2 separate regions of the Homo sapiens genome follow, and region 2 is linked to region 1. Evidence: promoter capture Hi-C in human tissues and cell types (Jung and others, 2019). All regions are on one chromosome and are shown on one strand. Each heading gives the region's core, a stretch centred on a gene start or on the middle of the fragment in contact. The rest is flanking DNA. Distances are from core to core; before and after follow the strand shown. Region 1 holds the start of SOX9 (SRY-box transcription factor 9). Region 2 has its middle 100 kb from the start of ROCR.

Evidence for each region. The method cuts DNA at HindIII sites, captures the fragments that hold promoters and counts their contacts. A contact is called where the count stands out against the background at its distance.
Region 2: a fragment that was not itself captured here is called in contact with the fragment with the promoter of SOX9 in region 1 in 2 of the 25 tissues and cell types used here (dorsolateral prefrontal cortex and lymphoblastoid cells).

What each region holds. Positions count from the first base shown.
Region 1 is chr17:72,119,046-72,122,478 of GRCh38, reverse strand. It overlaps SOX9 (SRY-box transcription factor 9), which reads right to left and starts at 1,459. Exons shown (of 3, transcript NM_000346.4): 1 at 657-1,459. The coding sequence starts at 1,087. It also overlaps a transcript of SOX9-AS1 not described here. RefSeq lists silencers at 474-573, 1,484-1,813, promoters at 1,427-1,572, 1,427-2,194 and an enhancer at 2,296-2,796. The HindIII fragment of the contact is 7,134 bases long and covers 1-3,433 here.
Region 2 is chr17:71,921,440-71,924,872 of GRCh38, reverse strand. No RefSeq gene overlaps it. Among named protein-coding and RNA genes, the nearest start is that of ROCR, 100 kb to the left of the region's middle. RefSeq lists a silencer at 2,892-3,021. The HindIII fragment of the contact is 4,555 bases long and covers 1-3,433 here.

The DNA.
Region 1 (3,433 bases), core at 210-2,709:
CTTCTATTTCTATTTTGGAAACGCTGGAGATGAAAACGACTCCCGGTGCTGCCCCCTAAACGCCTTTGCTGCTCGACTTACCGCCCCCAACCCCAACCCCCTTTGAAAACTTTCCCCCAAATTACTTAAGCTGCAAGAAGGTCCCCAATTCTCACCCCCCACCATACACTCCCACCTATTTCCAGTAGCCTCCCTCCTCCCGCCTCCCAGTTCCTGCCAAGGGTCTCCTCCAACCTCGGTTTCTCCCTTGCCCCATCTCCGTGGACAGTGGGGCTGCACGAGAGAGTGCAGTTTTAAGAGGCCGGGTAGGAGGGAGGCAAGTTTCACTTCCCCGCCCCGATTGAGCTTCCAGGCGACTGGAGAGCAGGCTGGCAGCCCCCTCCTTCCGTCTCCCACCAGTCTTCGTCCATCCTCCAGCTACCTCCCTCACCTCTTCCACTTACCACCCCCCTCCTCCGCGTCCCCGCGAGCAGCCCAAGAACTTTGTCAAACTCTGAGCCACAGTTACACCCCATTCCCACTCCCAACCCCATCCCGCCGGCTCCCGGAACGGCAACTCCCGGGCGATGGGAGGCGGGGCGGGGCAAATCAGCCCTGACCAGCGCCCCCAGCCGCCGCGATGCCCACCCTGCCGCGCCGCCCCCGCCGGGTCCTACCTCCAGAGCTTGCCCAGCGTCTTGCTGAGCTCGGCGTTGTGCAAGTGCGGGTACTGGTCCGCGAGCTTCCTGCGCGCCGCCTGCGCCCACACCATGAAGGCGTTCATGGGCCGCTTGACGTGCGGCTTGTTCTTGCTGGAGCCGTTGACGCGCACCGGCATGGGCACCAGCGTCCAGTCGTAGCCTTTGAGCACCTGGCTGACCGCCTCGCGGATGCACACGGGGAACTTGTCCTCCTCGCTCTCCTTCTTCAGATCGGGCTCGCCCTTGGGGAACGTGTTCTCCTGGGGCCGCGTGTTCTCGGTGTCCGAGCCGGAGCCCGACGGGCAGGGCGAGCCCGCGGAGTCCTCGGACATGGTGGGGCTGGGGGCGCCGGACAGGCCCTTCTCCTGCTCGTCGGTCATCTTCATGAAGGGGTCCAGGAGATTCATACGCGGGCCCGGGGCAGGGGGCTGGTGGCCGGGAAAGGCGAGAAGCCGCGGCGGCTCGGGGACTCGAGGCGCGGGCTCCTCTCCCCTCGGCTGCCCGGATGCGGAGCAAGCGGCTCCCGGGGAAGCTGGCGCGTCGGCCGGCTACCGCGGCGAGCACTTAGGAAGGCGCGGGGTGGCCAGTTCACAGCTGCCCGCTCCAAGTGGGGGGAGGCGAATTGGAGAGGAGGAGGAGGGGAGGAAAAAGAGCAAAAGTGGGGGCGCTTGCACCCCTTCTCTTCTCCTCCTGCAAAGAAAAGTTTCCGGGGTTGAAACTGGCGAGTCTCCGCGCCACTGAAGTTTCCAGTCAGTTTCGAGCTCCGCTTTCGGCTCTCCAACTCCCAGCCCAGGGTCTCTTTAATAAATACTCCGCCTCACCTTAGAGCCACCCGCCAATCACAGCACAGCAGTCCCAGGGTTGGCAGGCAGCTGATTGGACCCGATTTTGGGGAGGGAGGAGGATTGTGGCACTGGGCTGGGTGACGAGGCGGGAGGGGAGGAGAGGGGAGGGGATCGCAGCCAAAGGGCGGACGGTAGGGTGGGGGGGCGGGGGGTGCTGCGGGGAAGGCGGGGGACCCGGGACTTCCAAGTGTGTAAGTTTGTCGTACTCTCGGAATGCCAGAATTTTAGTGCCTTCTCCGCGCGAATCTTGTGTGTGTGTGTGTGTGTGTGCGCGCAAGTGTGTGTGTCTAGACTAGGATCTACCCCCACCTCCGACATTTCTTTTCACTGCTCTCTCCGCGGCACCGGGGACTTAGCTGGAGTTTGCAGTATTCGAAAAGCAGCCGCTTCTTAATGCGTAGCCGAGTTTACGCGCCTGGAGCGAGCCTGCCTGCCTGCAAAAGTGCTTAGAAATAGTCTTTTGAAGCAAATGTTTTGGTGACTCAACGCCCGCTGTTCCTCCGTAATAATCCATATAAATAGATTAACATGCTCGGGTTCGCCGGGGCTGGTGCGGCTGGTCAGGATTCTGCTGCGCTTTTGCAAAGGGAGTCAATGGAAAGCAAAGCTAAGTCCCCGCGAAGGTTGGCAGCGGCGGCCGTGGCCACGCAGGAGCCCGGCGCTCTCGAGGCCGCCCCGCGCCACATCGACCTTGAGCTCTGACAAGTCATTCTCCAGCCCCCTCTACCCGCGACCCTGCCGACGCTCCTCAGTAACAGGGCTACTGCTCTGACGTTTTGGTCTTTGCCTCCTGGCCGGGTCAAAAACGTCAGCCGAGTCGCCCTGTCTGGGGGAGAGTTTGCTAACTGCTCTGGCTTTGAGAGATAGAAGTTTGCCAATGCGGCTGTCCCGGGCCGCGAGGCCCAGGCCGGTCACTTGGTTTGTAAAAGACCAAACAAATGGGCACCACCGCAGACAAAACGCTCCACTCTGGCGGAGTCATGCTGCTTGCCTGCTTTTGCTGGCATTTACGAAACACCTGAAGGGGTGAAGCGCCGGTGCTTCTGACTCTAGTCCGGTCGGTTCAGACCTGCATGTAGTTGGGAGTTCTGGGGGAGGCATTGGTGGTGTCTCTCATGTATTTCAAGTGTGATTTGAGCACAACCTTTGTGTTTACACGAAATGCTTAGAGCCAGGTTGGGTAAGTGCGGAGCTATCTGCTCTGGGATAGAAGAAAAGTCTTGGTCGCTTGCGGGTTCTGTGCTTTCAGAATCCCAAATAAACGCACAGCATTGGGAAACTCTTAATTTTAAACTCCCCCCCCCCCCCCACCCTTTTGGGCTCTTGCAAAAATTCGCCTCAATTAAATTATTGTTGTGGTGAATCGGCCCACATCATAATAAAAACTAGTTTTTTTTTCCCTTTCTAATTTGCGAAGTGAGGACACTATCACAAGATCCAAATCAATGTCCTTCCGGGAGAATTTCTTAAAATCTTGTTTTCTCTCGTTGTCTTCGGAAGAAGCCCGACATTTCTTATAGGAAATGGAACTCTTCATAAGGTAGTAAGTTACAGCCTTGTTCAACAGCATTTTTTTTTTAACGAATGTAACTTCTTCAAATGGGATGTTTCTGGTGCCCTATAGCTCGTTTACAAATTTAAGAGATTTGCATACAATAGCTTCGTATCCAGGGCTCTGTGATTACTTTCAGAAAGTGTAAGAACAGCATCGTCCTTTCCTAGGAGAAAAAAGTCCGCGTAGTGTGGACCTATTTCTGTGTCCCGGGTAGAAGGGCATTGTGTGTACAGTATAACTGTGTAATTCTCAGACACCTGATTCAGGAGACTCGGAGACCATCGGGCAGACATTTTAGCCAGGTCGTCTGTACTTAGTTGTATGATATTGTAATTACCATGTTTGCTGGAATA
Region 2 (3,433 bases), core at 237-2,736, 200 kb after region 1:
CCTTTCCTTTCCTTTCCTTCCTCCCTCCCTTTCTTTCTTTCTTTCTTTTTTTTTTTTTTCCCCAAGTCTCACCCTGTCGCCCAGGCTGGAGTGCAGTGGTGCGATCTCGGCTCACTGCAAGCTCTGCCTCCTGGGTTCTCACCATTCTCCTGCCTCAGCCTCCCGAGTAGCTGGGACTATAGGCGCCCGCCACCATGCTCGCCTAATGTTTCGTATTTTTAGTAGAAACAGGGTTTCACTGTGTTAGCCAGGATGGTCTCGATCTCCTGACCTCGTGATCCGCCCGCCTCTGCCTCCCAAAGTGCTGGGATTACAGGCGTGAGCCACCGCATGCAACATCTCTCTCTTTTCTTTTCTTTTCCTTTTATTTTCTTTTCTCTTTTCTATTCTTTTCTTTTCTTTACTTTTCTTTTCTTTTCTTTCCTTCCTTCCTCCCTCCCTCCTTTCCCTCTTCCCCTTCCCCTTCTCCTTCCTTCCTCTCTCTCTCTTTCTTTCCTTCTTTCTTTGTTTTTCTTTCTCTCTCTCTCTCCTTTCCTTTTTAATTTTTTTGAGACAGTGTCTCACTCTATCCACCAGGCTGGAACTGGAGTGCAGTGGCCCAATCTGGGCTTACTGCAACCTCCGCCTCCCAGGTTCAAGCAATTCTCCTGCCCCAGCCTCCCGAGTAGCTGGGATTACAGGCACGTGCCACCAGGCCCAGCTAACTTTTGTACTTTTAGTAGAGACAGGGTTTCACCATGTTGGCCAGGCTGGTCTCGAACTGCTGACCTCAGGTGATTTGCCTGCCTCGGCCTCCCAAAGTGCTGTGATTACAGGCGTGAGCCACCCCGCCTGGCCCTCCCCTCCTTTTCTAAAAGACAGCCAAGCACTATGACTAAGAGATGAAGCTTGAAGCTAAGATGCCTGGATGAACAACACGGTCTCTTCATGTGCTAGTTTCAGGACTTTGGGGAAAACTCCAGTCTTCTCATATAGAGGAGTACAACAGGGTAATAAGAGTACCTTTCAGTAGGATCGTCATGAAGTTCAAATACATAAACATACATAAAATGCTTAGAACAAAACTTGAAACTTGGCATGTAGCACAAAAACTGCTTACTATCATTACTTGTACAAACCATCCTTACACAACCTATTCTATTACAAGCTACCAGAACATAGTCCATTTTATTCATTATTTTATCCCTAATGCCTACAGCCATGCTAGGTATATAATAAATATTCAATAAACATTTGTTAAACTAACGTCTTGGTGTATTAGCTCTACATCATCTCTGCTCCCATTTAAGGCAATGTTTTATTTATTTAACAGATGATTTCTTCATTTAACAATCCTGGTAAAATGCCATTTTGTATTCTTGGTAACTTGTCTATTCTGTACATTGAAGTCGAGTTGGAGACTTTTTTTTTTCTTTCTTATTGCTCTTCTGGATTGCAGCTTTTAAAATTCAAAGCTGCCTAATGGGCTGTTTAGGAGGTAGTGAGACCTCTATCACTAGAGACATTTAAACACCTGATAAGGGGTTGGACTGGATGACCGTTTCCAAGTCTGCAATTTGTGATTCTATATCCTGTGTTCTTAGAGCACTTAATAAGGGCAGTTAAATGAAACATTTAGTTTAAACAGTTATCCACTTATAGCCTATATTAGGCTAAATGCATTTTGCATATGTTTAAGATGACTCTTACTATGGTAAATAAAACCTTAGCATTTTCCTGATGCTCACAGGAGATTTTGTGACAGCAGGTACTGGAAATGCATTTAAGCTCACTCGGCAATTGTTTGGTGCTATACCACGTATTTTACCAGTCATTTAACTTGATCAATTTTTAATAATACAAATATACTGTAGAAAGTGACACTGCAATTTAGACAAGGGCACATAATATTTTACAAACCTCAAATCTGGAAAAGATAAGGTACCTTTTTCCCCTTGCTACCCACAGATACAAAAATAAACGCTTTAGCAAGGATTCCGGCAAGGAATCAGGAAGCCTGAGTCCTAGTCTTGGTTCTTCTATAGGTAAGAAGGACTGAGGGCTTTACATTTTGCTCTGTGTATGGAAATTCAAGGTGCAAAATAGTAGTATAATTTAACAGACACCAGGAGCTGGGCCCCTCTTGCACAATGCCATTCATAGTAAACCTATGAGGCATCAAGGGGCTATTAAAATAGTTCCCAACCCAGCACAGAGACCCAGAGCTGGAAGGAACATTCTGACTATGCAGATGAGTTCAGAGCCTGGGAGAAAACAGGATGTGGGCTCCTGAGAATTGCAATAAAGACTGAAAGCATGTGCCTCCAGCTTCAGGGCTTCTGGGTGAATTTCTGCTTCAGTCACCTGATATCCCTTCACCATGACATAAGCAAAGAGAATTCTTCCCACCTGATGGCAGAAACTCACTGATAGTTACTCCATGGCTTTATGGTAGCTGCCTCATGTTGACTTCCAGTTCAGAAAGCCTCTGTCTACTCTCTCTTGTTGATTCTGTTTTCTCAGTGGAATCCTGTATCCCATTTACCTGGAGAAAAAAAAAAAAAGGTACTTTCAAACAAGATAAAAATTAAAACTCCAATGAATCAATCAACCCTCACTCCTTTGCTCACTCAGATTGTCTTTTATGTCACTTTTGTGAGATTTTGAGTGTGCAATGGAAAATAAGGTTTTTGTAACAAGTTCAGACCTTTGCTGATATCTTTCCCCTTTCTACCTTACCTAAATTAGGTCCTTCCACTTTATGATGTCACGATACCCAGCACTTGCCCTTCACAGTACTTGACACATTTGGATGACTATTTCCTGAATGACTTTCTCACTCTCTAGATGAAAAATCTGTAAAACCAATGATCATGCCTCTCTTGTTTACCAGCTTTTATTCGCCCAGCAGCCAGCATAGTGCTTAGAACAGTAGGCACCCAGGAAGTATGTGGTTCAGACACTTATTCTGGCTTGTGTTTTATTTCAGCATACAGCAGTGTTGGGTTAGGTGGGGTTGGTGTAGTCATCTGGTGATGTGGTTTACTTAAGCAGTCAATGAGAATGTTCTGATCAAGATAAGACTTCACACTTCTCCCACTGACTTATTGATATCAAGTAAGTGCCAATTTTTTCAGAATTCCTGTCTTGTAATTTGTCTGCTAAGGTAAATATGGATGAAGAAAAAACTGTTATAACAATTATACAGTCAAATGCATTGAGGAAAAAAAATGTACCATGCCTAACATTTATATCCTCTGGTCATGCAGTAAGTCTCAGTGTGCTACTGACAGGTCAGTTTTTGAAAGTCTCCTAAGAAAACCAAAGAGATTTGGAGTTCATTTTGAAATGAGTGGAAGAGAGCTTACAGTGGGTTCTTTTATCCCTCTCAAGTTAATTCAATGTGCTACTTGTAGCTTGGGTTTGATCTGAGGTATGAATCATTCATTAGGTA